Linked DNA regions of Homo sapiens: region 2 is linked to region 1. Evidence: promoter capture Hi-C in human tissues and cell types (Jung and others, 2019). All regions are on one chromosome and are shown on one strand. The core of a region is centred on a gene start or on the middle of the fragment in contact, and the rest is flanking DNA. Distances in the headings are between cores, read along the strand shown. Region 1 holds the start of S1PR3 (sphingosine-1-phosphate receptor 3). Region 2 overlaps SPIN1 (spindlin 1).

The links. Contacts are between HindIII fragments. The study calls those that stand out against the background at their distance.
Region 2: a contact is called between a fragment that was not itself captured here and the fragment with the promoter of S1PR3 in region 1, in 2 of the 25 tissues and cell types used here (dorsolateral prefrontal cortex and spleen).

The regions. Positions count from the first base shown.
Region 1 is chr9:88,988,444-88,993,996 of GRCh38, reverse strand. It overlaps S1PR3 (sphingosine-1-phosphate receptor 3), which reads right to left and starts at 2,529. Exons shown (of 2, transcript NM_005226.4): 1 at 2,302-2,529. RefSeq lists a silencer at 2,689-2,983. The HindIII fragment of the contact is 13,055 bases long and covers 1-5,294 here.
Region 2 is chr9:88,464,352-88,469,904 of GRCh38, reverse strand. It overlaps SPIN1 (spindlin 1), which reads right to left. Exons shown (of 6, transcript NM_006717.3): 5 at 1,300-1,533. Among named protein-coding and RNA genes, the nearest start is that of NXNL2, 68 kb to the left of the region's middle. The HindIII fragment of the contact is 5,445 bases long and covers 1-4,789 here.

The sequences.
Region 1 (5,553 bases), core at 1,280-3,779:
TTTGAAGCCAGGAAAATGGAGCGGCATCTGCAAGGCCGAAGAGCACCATCCACTGCTTGAGGAGCGGACCGTCACCTCGCTGTGTGAGCTGACCCCAGTCCGGCCTGTGAGCAGTGAAGATCCACTCACTGGGCACCAATCTGCACTGGACAATCTCGTCACTGATTTAACCCAACTGGCCTATTGTCTCTTACAGACACAGCTTCAATGCCTCAAAAATAGGATTCAAAAAAGGGAAGGAGACTTTATGCCCAGTAGCTATAACAGTAACATCAACTGAAACATGTTATTAACTGAAACTAGATACGATTCCACTCAGTCTATTCTTTTTCTTTTTTCTCAAACATTATACATTTCCAAAAGCTTAAGGAAAATCTTAAGGCAATTAATTTGGCAGAAAACATATGGCAGAGGAATAATAGGAAATGCCTCCAAAACTGATAAGAAAGGAATTACAAAGCCAAATATGAAGAAACAGAAAGTTTCATAGAACCCACAGCACAGCACCCTGGTTCCAGCTAAGGTAAACAGACTGCATAAGGCTGGCGGCCTGGCTCTGGTAACACTTGGGAAACAGTACAAAGTCCTGGCAGTTAAAGGGTTCTACAGCAGGGCAACCTCAGATTTTTCAAGATTGTGGCATGCTCAAATTCTCCTTTTTTTGGTAATAAAAATATACCTACAGTATATAATAAAAATATACATACAGCACAGGCATTGAGGAAGATGAAAGAGATACCATGAAATCAAGTTAATGTCATAATTTCCAGAAAGAGGAAACCAGTTCCTGAATTTTGAGAAATAAGATCCTTCGGCCACTATGTGAAGTTTCTTCTATAGGAAACTGTAGTCTCTACCCTTTGTATATGGTAGAAAATCAGAGACTCATGCATTTGAATAAAAATCACAATGATAAAGGGAGAAATGGCACTTTCAAAGATGAAAACTGGTTGAGAAATCATTCTCTCTAAATCTTAGGGGGAGGCTCTTAAGGGCTAGCTTCAGTTTGTATCTCTGGTGTTAGGTGATGGAAGTGATTTCAGAGGCCCAAAGTGAGTGCTTACTGGTTTGCTAATGAAAAAAGCCTGACGTGCGGTTCTTCTTCTATGGCAACAAAGTTATTCAACCTAGCATTAAGGTCTGCATCCATGAAATAATACTTTACAGATATGAACACTTCCACAACTCCTCAAGCGCACACACACACACACACACACATGCCCCGCACCATCACCACCTCCTCAACCAACACCAGCCCTGGGCATGGCCAGCTATCCTTGTTAGTCATGTATCTGCAGAGCATAATCCTTCCCTTGTACTTTCTAGGAATTATATTTTTCTTAACTATGCCTGCAAGATTTTCATCTATGAATAAAAAACATTGAAAAGATAAATTATGAATATGTGGTTATATACAAAGTCTGTGACTTCTAATGTCCAGATTTTAGAATGATGCCTAATTCTGGAGGTCTCAGAGGTCCAAGTGGGAGTGGGTACCATGAATGGGGGGGCCTCCATTTAAAAGTAACCTTCTAAAGAGCTCTCTGTTCCTGTAGCTCCCCTTTCCTTATTGGAAGGGTCAAAACGAAGTGTGTTCCCTTAAAAATCCAACAAGAAGTTCCTCTCTTATATCCAAATATAAAAACACCACAAAGAAATATACCATTGGGAGTGTCCAAAGCCAGAAAGTCAGAGGAAGAGAGAGAGAGAGAGAGAGAGAGAGACTGACTATTGGGAGACTCAAAAAGCCCAAAGCCCCTTCTCTAGCTGTTATCTCAGTTACGAACACAACGTACTGATTTTCCGTGGGAACCTCATTATTGCACTGTGGGGACTTCGTCTTCCAGCACCGATTCTGACGGCCCTAATTGCCTTGTTTGAGAAATGTTAGGAAAAAACTAATTTTCCGGCGAATATTGTTTAAAAGAATGATTTTCCCAGGCTAACGACCACAACCCTCTCCCACGTCCAGCATCCCCAGGCCCTGGCACTGTGGAAGCCTAACTTGTTAATTGTCCAAGGAAAACGACTGATGGAACTTCTCCACGAACAGCCTCTCCACTTTCATCCAGGTATTCAGCTCCAGCCCGTTGTAAACGCTCCGGGTGCGGTGGAAAAGGCCTCCTCCCTGTTCCTGCAGCGGCTCTGGGGGAGGGGTGCTGATGTGGAGCGCTCCGGCCGCCGTGGCGCGCCCAAGTCCCCGTCGCGCCCGGGATCGGTGGGGATTTTGTTGGAAAGGTGGGTCCTTCGGCCCCCAGCCCCCCACCCTGGTTCCGCGCCCCGCCCGGGCCCGCCTCTCACCTCCGTCGGCTGAGGGCGCTGGGGCCACCGGCATCCTAGCGGGTGGCGCGCGGCGGTGCCGGGGCGCCCGGTCCTGCGCTCGAATGCCAGATGGGCTGGGAGGCCCGGCAGTCTCAGCGCTCGCGACGTCGTTCCCGGGCCTGGGGTCCTGCTCGGTCGCGTCCTGCAGCCGCCTTCTGGTCCCTGAGTCCCTGTTGCCCGTCCCCGGAACCGGCTTCCTCGGCCTCTGCCCGAGCGAGTCAGAGACTAAACTTTTCCAGCGGCCCGCCGGGGCGGGACCCGCGCTCCGCCCCTCCCCTCGCCGCCCCCGACTCCCGCCCCTCTCCCCGCCCCCCTCTCCCCGTCCCCCGCCCGCGAACCCGGCACTCCTCCAGCTCCCCACCTCCCGCTCAAGCCGCCTGGTCTCCGTGCGCCCCGCCCGCCCCTAGCCTGGACCCCTTCTCCCCGACCCTACCAATCCCCTAGGGTCCGGCTCGCCCTTCGGCCCCTGTTCCCAGGCCGGCCTCCAGACCTTGTCCTCATCGGGCGAGCTCCAGGTGCAGAAACCGGGCGCCCAGAGACCCAGCGGGAACAGGCTTGGAACCAGGTCCGAGGTCTGGGCTTGGGCGGGCGCCTGTCGCCCTGACAGCGAGGGTTTGTTTGGGCCGATTCTTAATAGGAGGATTAATACTATCATTATCGTTGTCCAGATCCTGACCATTTCTTTTGTAACTGGCCGAGCACCGGCTTGGGCTTGCAGGTGGGCGCCTGGCGCCGGACAGCGTTTTTGTTTGGGCTTCTTCCTTTTCCGCGCGGGTCCCCTCCGGCGCCTGCCTGGTCCCTCTCCGCGCTCTACCCCCAGGCACGCAGAGACTTGGGCTCCAGGCGGGGGCAGCACTCTCCCCCAGCCTCTGCTGGTGCACCAGAGCCCACTCCGGCACAGAGCAGCGCCCCTCCTAGACCGGCAGCCAGCAGATCTCAGCCGACCCCCATGCGACCCCCTTCCTCACGCGGATTTGCCCCTTTTGTGTGGCAAAAATAATAATAATAATAATAAATCCATATGAAGGCTTCAAACAGAATTCCGAGAGAAGGAACTGCCAAATTTTCAATCAATGCCAAAGGCCATGATTGAGCGAACACAGAAACAACTGTAGAAGCTTGGGGAGAAAGGAGAAAATTAAAGAAAAAGGAGGAGGAGGAAAAGGAGAGAGGAGAGAAGCGGGAGGAAGAAGACGAAAAAGCAAGGAGAGGCCTGTTATCCGACCGTGCATTCCTGGGCCGGCAGGATTGGGCCGCAGGGGCCGCTGCAGAGAGTTGAGTTTGTGCAAAGGCCGCTCGTTACTTTCTGTCTTTTGCCCTCTTGCCTCCAGAGGATCAGCCCAGCGCATCCTTCTCTTGGAGCAGGGTGCATACGCTTATTTGGGGTGCAGTTTGAGCGGTGAAGGGCACCAAGAGTGGAAGTCGGCGGCACTCCTGTTCCCTGCAGAGAAACGCAAGCCCTCAGCAATTGAGCTGAAGGAGGCAAGTGACTCTGCCTGCTGAGGCTGCCAGCCCTAGAGGCTCTGGCCCCCGGGAGCTGGGGTACTTCCCAGCGTTTTCGCCTAAGCCACTTCGCCTGTGCTACTGTGGAGTCTTCCGGCACTGTAGCCTTCCAACTTGTTCAAAGTGCCTGGTGCACGGCTCTGAGAAGCCACTTCTGTCCCAAGTTTCATGTGGGCCTGAATGTGCTTCCCTTTGTTGGACTCCTACAGCATCAAGTCAAGAAAAGAAGGAAACATGCTCCTTTGGCATTGGTCACAACCAGGATAACAATACAGCATACTGTGGCCACTGTGTCTATATTACCAAAGTGGTCAGTAGGTTCATCACACCTCTGTTCAATTAGTTGCTTCCCGTGATGAAAAATTTACTGCTAGGATACTGGCTGAGGGTTGTTTTAAGGGGCACCCAAGTCTCCGTTCCTAGAGAAAGTCAGTTACCCTGATATAACAGAGCAACCTTGAGGCGTGGTGATGCCTCCAAAACTAGTCTGCGGAATCGGAGCCCAGAAGCCCTGAGGAGTAATGTGGCTCTCATGCTTTATGGCAGGTTTCCCTAAGAGAGACCCAGGATCTGACCCATGGCATCACTGAAATTCCTCTTTCAGTGAGGCTCCGTTTGCCTAAAGATCCCTGTCCTCAGTGGGTCTCCCCACACACGGGCCTCTCACTCACCCACTGCCCCACCCCCATCTGCTGCCCTCTTCCTGGGCCTTAAAGCTCAGACACTAGACTCTGACAAGGAGCCCTCCATGCCCCGGTAGAGACCATCTTCTCTCACCACTCCTTTTGAGAGAAACAGCCCTCCCTACAATTCTGTTGAATAAGTCTCCTCCTCTGCATCCTGTTTCACAAGTGAAAGCAGTTTAACAGAAGAATGCCAGCTCATAAACGTAGAAATGCGAGAATGAGGAAATCCCCATTCTGTAACCCTTAATGAAATAATTAAATCAGGCAGTGTGCACTAGTGGGTGTCAAACCCTTAGGTGAAAGTGTGCAGGCGAACGGGTGCTAATTGGAAAAAAAAAAGAAAAAGGTTTTCCATTTTCCATTTTTTTATGGAGACATCTGGCTGTACCTTACAGGAAGATCAAACTCAGTGTCACTAATACTGGCTCAACCTGGCATTATGTGATGCAAAAGAAACACACAACATCATTGTTGCTGTGTGCTTGCCAAAGATGCTTCAATTGAATCAATTGCAAAGCCTCTAGACTTTACTGCAAGTTTACAGGAAATGGAAGAGTTTGAGCCATGAGTTAAATGACACCATGGGAAAAACTGGACTACCAGAGTGTGGGCATTCTGCAGTCCTGAGCTCTTCCAAAAAAAATCAATGTCAAGAAAAAGGGGTGAAGGATTCTTCTGGTATAAGAACAGCTGAAAAGAAGAAGTATAACAATAAGTACAAATCCGGATTGACTCCCAGCTGGACAAATCAGCACACACACACGCACACAAAAACATTTTGGAGGAAATTACAAATTGGAGGGGATATTGACTGATAGTATAGAATTATTGTTAATGTTTTTAGGTGTGATAATGGCATAATGTTTGTTTAGGAGAATGGCTTTAATTTTAGGAGGTGCTGCTGAAGTATTAAAGGGTAAAATGTCTTCATGTCTAAAACTTATTTTAAATTGTTCAGCACAGTACGTGCACATAAGCTGATATGACAAAAGGTTGGTGATTATTGGTTCTACGTGGTGGATTTAGGGAAGGGGTTGTACAA
Region 2 (5,553 bases), core at 818-3,317, 520 kb after region 1:
ACTGTACATATCTGTGCGTATATTAAAAAGTACAGAAATGCACATTTTAAATGGACTAACTATATGGACTAACATGGTCGTAATGGCTCACACCTGTAATCCTAACACTTGTGGGAGGCCAAGGCTGGTGGACTACCTGAGCTCAAGTGTTTGAGACCACCTTGGCCAACATGGTGAAACCCCATCTCTAAAATATAAAACAAAACAAACAAACAAACAAAAATTAACCAGGTGTGGCGGTGGGTGCCTGCAGTCCCAGCCACTTGGGAGGCTGGGGCAGAAGACTCGCTTGAGCGTGGGAGGCGGAGGTTGCAGTGAGCCAAGACCACACCATTACACTCCAGCCCAGCCTGAGCAACAGAGCAAGACTCTGTCCAAAAACAAAAACCACAATAAAGGTTTTCTAGGCCTAATGAAATTAGCCCAGGTCACATCCTCTTCTACCTTACCTGTGTGAACAGACTAGTTGTGGAAATAGCTAAATCACCTGTCTAAACACTGACTCTGTACTCCACTTGCTACTGAAAAGTTAGCAGTCAATCGTTTTCTGAAATTGATGTTCTCTAAATCAGGAGTCCCAGACACCTGGGGCCACGCCGCACAGCAGGAGGTGAGCAGCGGCAAAGAGAGCACTGCCGTCTGAGCTCTGCCTCCTGTCAGATCAGCAGAGGCATCAGATTCTCACAGGAGCACAAACCTTATTGTGAACTACGCATGTGAAGAATCTAAGTTGTGTGTTCCTTATGGGAATCTAATGCCTCCAAAACCACCATATCCACACCCAACCCCCAATCCACAGAAAACTGTCTTCCATGAAACTGGTCCCCGGTGACAAAAAGGCTGAAGATCGCTGCTCTGAAGTTCAAGTATTTACAGATGAAATAATCAATGTCTTGGGATTAGATTCAAAATAATTGCACTGGGGGGACTAACAGATAAAACTAGACAGGCGATGAGATAACTGTTAAAGCTGAGCAGGGTACACGGGGACGTATTTTACTGATCCCTATTCCATCATGTTTTTAAATAAAAGCAAGAAGTAATATGTAGTAGTGTTAATAATTATAAAACAACTTGTATCTTATTACAGAAGCCAAGCAGAACTGACTATCAAATATTTTCTTATCTAACATTTATAACAACTGGATGAAAAATTTCAAAGGCTGTGTTTGTGCATGACTAAAAGAATCATATATCCAAAAATAAAAATGTATCTGCAAAAGAGCCAATCAAATATCTTGTACTGAAGTCCAAATCCCTTCTAATTATCACATATAAAAGTTGCCAATATATACTTACTGGAATCAGGCATAATGCGAAGGTCGCCTTCTTTGTAATCATCTAAGAGTTGGTACATGTACAAGACAGGGTCTTTCTCATAGGTAATGTAAAACCATGTGTTCATGACAGGTGCACGTGCTAAGACCATTCCCCTCCACTCATCTTTAGAACCATCCTCTGTCTCAAACATATGTTCCACTGCTTTGCCAATCATTGTGTCTGCCAAGTGTGCATCGCTGATTCGAGATGTCGCTGGGGATTAAAAAAAAAAAAAAAAAGTTGACAAAGTGTTTCGCTGATTACCGACTATGAAGACTGAATTTACTAAAGAAGGCTACACCTGAAATTTTGTCCATGCAACGTATTAGCAAGCATCAGAATCTGGGAAAGCTTTAAAAAGTACAAAAACCAAAGACAAACTACTGGGCCCCAGCTCAGAGATGGATTCAACAGAATAGAAGTATTTTGTCCCAAGTCAGTTAATTGAAAAAAATATGATTTTTTATTTTTCTGGACTCATCTGCTCTTGGTTCTGTACCCAAATCAAAAGTTTTAATTGTTCATTCAAGGTATAAAATACTGTTTGTTATTGTTTACTTAACAGTTAAATTTTGAGATAATTTCAGACTTACAGAAGAACTGGAAAAATAGTAGAGTTCCTGTATACGGTTCACTTTGCTTCTCCTGTATTAGCATCTTACATAACCACAGAACGTTTATTTAAAACTTAGAAAAGCTATTCAAGGCACAGAGGGTTTTTTTTTTGTTTTTTTTTTTTAAAGAAATTGGTGTTTGTTTTCCTTCAGTCTTATTTCCATTTTTTTATTAAGGCATAGGTTTTTACTCTCTTGCTCCTACAATCTTATTCTTCACTGCAACCAAAGTAATCGTTGTGTCACTGATACCACATTGTGTGATCTAAAATGTTCCCATGCCTTCCCTTTATAATTTGAAAAACAACCAAACTGCTCACCATAGCCCCCAAGCCCTAAAAGCCTTCACGCCTCTGCCCTCAGGTTTCCCATCTTCCTCCTTGTTGTTCATGCGTTCTCTACTCTGCTCTTCTTCCTCTCCCATTAGGACACACTCTCCTCTGCCTGATAAGCTCTTCCCCATACCTTCAGAAGGCCGGTTCCTTTTGGAGTTCTCCTGACCAACAAGGTAGCCCCACAAATCCCAGTCACATTACCCAATTTTACCTCTTAATAACATTCACCATGATCTAAAGTTATCCCACTTTATGTTATTTGTGTACTTGTTAGTTGCTTGTACATCCCCATGAAAGCAGAGACCTTCCCTTTCTTGTTTTATACCTAGATCATAGCAGGTCAGTATTTGTATGATTTAATCAGATACCCCATGTGGTTGGGAGCTCAGGTCTCTGAAATGATAGATTAACGGTCCTAGCCCTTAATATTTTTCAAAAGTGGTGAAAATTATCACCTTCATCTTTTTAATACTGGAAAAACTATGAAGGATCCCATTGGTTTTAAGACTTCTCCAGTCCACAATTTTAGATAACTGTCTTTATACCAAATTTAAACAATTATCTTTAAAAAACAAACAAACAAACAAACAAACAATTAGAGACAAGCACGGTGGCTCACGCCTGTAATCCTAGCACTTTGGGAGTCCAAGGCGGGCGAATCACTTGAGCCCAGAAGTTTGAGGCCAGCCTGGGCAACATGACAAAACCCCGTCTCTACTAAAAATACAAAAAATTAGCCAGGTGTGGCAGTGCAGGCCTGTAGTCCCAGCTACTGAGAAGGCTCAGGTGGTGAATCACCTAAACCCAGAGGTCGAGGCTGCAGTGAGACAAGATGGCGCCACTGCACTCCAGCCTGGGCTACGGGAGTGAGGCCCTGTCTTAACAACAACAAAAACAACAACAACAAACAATTAGCTCTCCTATTTTCCTCATTCAACAAACTTCTATTTCTGTTACATCAAAAGAAACAAAAAAGTGAGATTTTCTTGATACATGTATTGCTATTTAATTTTATCAGCAAACCCTAAACATGTATGGCTGGTTTTAAGTACGCAGTAATAATAAAAAATTACACAGAATTCCCCCCGTGTATGACAGTAAAAAAACCCCACTAGTTTCTTAAAGCCAGTAGATCTCAGACTTAGATCTCAGAACTCCATGTGCATTCTTAAAAATTACTGGCTGGGCACAGCGACTCACATCTATAATCCTAGCACTTTGAGCCCCAGGCAGGAGGATTGCTTGAGGCCAGGAGTTTGAGACCAGCCTGGGCAACATAATGAGATCTCATCTCTACAAAAAGTTAAAAATTAGCAGGGTACTGTGGTGAGTGCCTGTAGTCCCAGCAACTCAGGAGACTGAGGCAGGAGGACTGTTTGAGCTCAACGTGTTGAGACAGCAGTGAGCCCTGATCACACCACTATACTCCAGCCTGGGTGACAAAGCGAGATCCTGTCTCTAAAAAAAAAATTAAAACATAAATGGAAATTACTACAGACCTAAAAAAGCATCTGTTTACATAGATAATGCCTACCAATATTTACTACTTCAGAAAATGAAAAACAAATCTAGAAACATTTATTTAAAAATACCTATATATCAATGCATTTTAAATTAAAAATAACTATTTCCTATCAAAATACATTAAGAGTGGCTTAATTTTACATTTTTGCAAATCTCCTAATGTCTAGGTTTTAAAAAGAACAAGTAGATTCTCATATCTGCTTTAGCACTCAATCTGTTATGATCTGCTCTTTCAGTTCAGGTATAAAATCCAGCCTCTCAAAGATATGATACTGAAAAGAATATTCTAATCGTCTTTCAGATAATTCTAGATATACTTATATGAAACCACAGAATTCAACAGTTAGCTCCTTAAAGGTTAGTTACAATGCAGAATCTGAAACCATTAATAAATCTGTCATACTGTTACATTAAAACTCATGTCTCCAGAACATATAAAGAACTCTCACAACTCAACAAAAATCAAAATAACCTAATTAAAAAATGGTCAAAGGATGTGAGTAGATATTTCCCCAAAGATGATTTACAAGTGGCCAACAAGCACATAAAAAGATGCTCAATATCACTAATCATCAGAGAAATGCAAATCAAAACAAAATGAGGTATCGTATCACACCCATCAGGATGACCACTATGACAAAAACAGTAAATAGCAACTGCTGACTAAGGGATGGAGAACTGGAACCCTTGTATACTGTAGGTAGGACTGGAAAATGGTACAACTGCTGTGGAAAACAGTATGGTAGTTCTACCTAAGAAATTAGAATTACGATACTAAAATTAAAATTATAATTACCATATGATCCAGCAATCCCACTCCTGTGCCTATATCCAAAACAACTGAAAGCAGGATCTCAAAGAAATATCTGCATATCCATGTTTACAGGAGCACTATTCACAATTTTACATGGTACAATTTTACATTCTACCAAGAGGTAGAAGCAATCCAAATGTCCATTAATGGGTGAACAGATAAACAAACTGTGGTATATAGATACAATGGAATGTTCTTTTCAGCCTTAAAGGAAATCCTGTCACACGTTACAACATGAACCAACTTTGAGGACATTATGCTAAGTGAAATAAGTTACTCACAAAACAAATACTGTGTGATTCCACTTCTATGAGATATCTAGAATAGTCAAATTCATAGAGACAGAGTGTAGAATGGTGGTTGCCAGGGGCTGGGAATGGGAGGAAAGGTAGGTTGTTTTGTTTAATAGGTAGAGAGTTTCAGATTTGTAAGATGAAGTAGTTCTGGAGATCTGTTTCAACAATGCGAATGTACTTAACACACTACTGAACTGTACACTTAAAAATGGTTAGGACAGTAAATTTTATGCTATGTTTTTTTACAATTAAAAAAAAAGTAGTTAGTCTTGCACTTTGAATAGCTCTTTCACCAATGCATGATGTGGTACCATGCACTGCTCATAAAGAAAATATTGTGTTCACTAAGTTATGCAAATCTTCCAAATAGATAGTGGGAAACTCCACTGTGTAATTGAGAAAAAGAGAGAGTGAAAAGCGCGAATTACAGCTTAACAAAATGAAAATATTTCTGACCTTGCAAATCTCCTGAATGGGCTTCAGAGAACCCAAGGGTCCCCAGGCCTTGCTTTGGGAACCACTGCTCTGTGACATCACATGCATTCTGGCTGACTGACTTTTTTCTCTAACTTTAGCTTAAGAAAAACATAATTTTAATTATACTCTAATGTACTGCCTGAAGCAATTGCTTCCGACGTAAAACGTAAGTG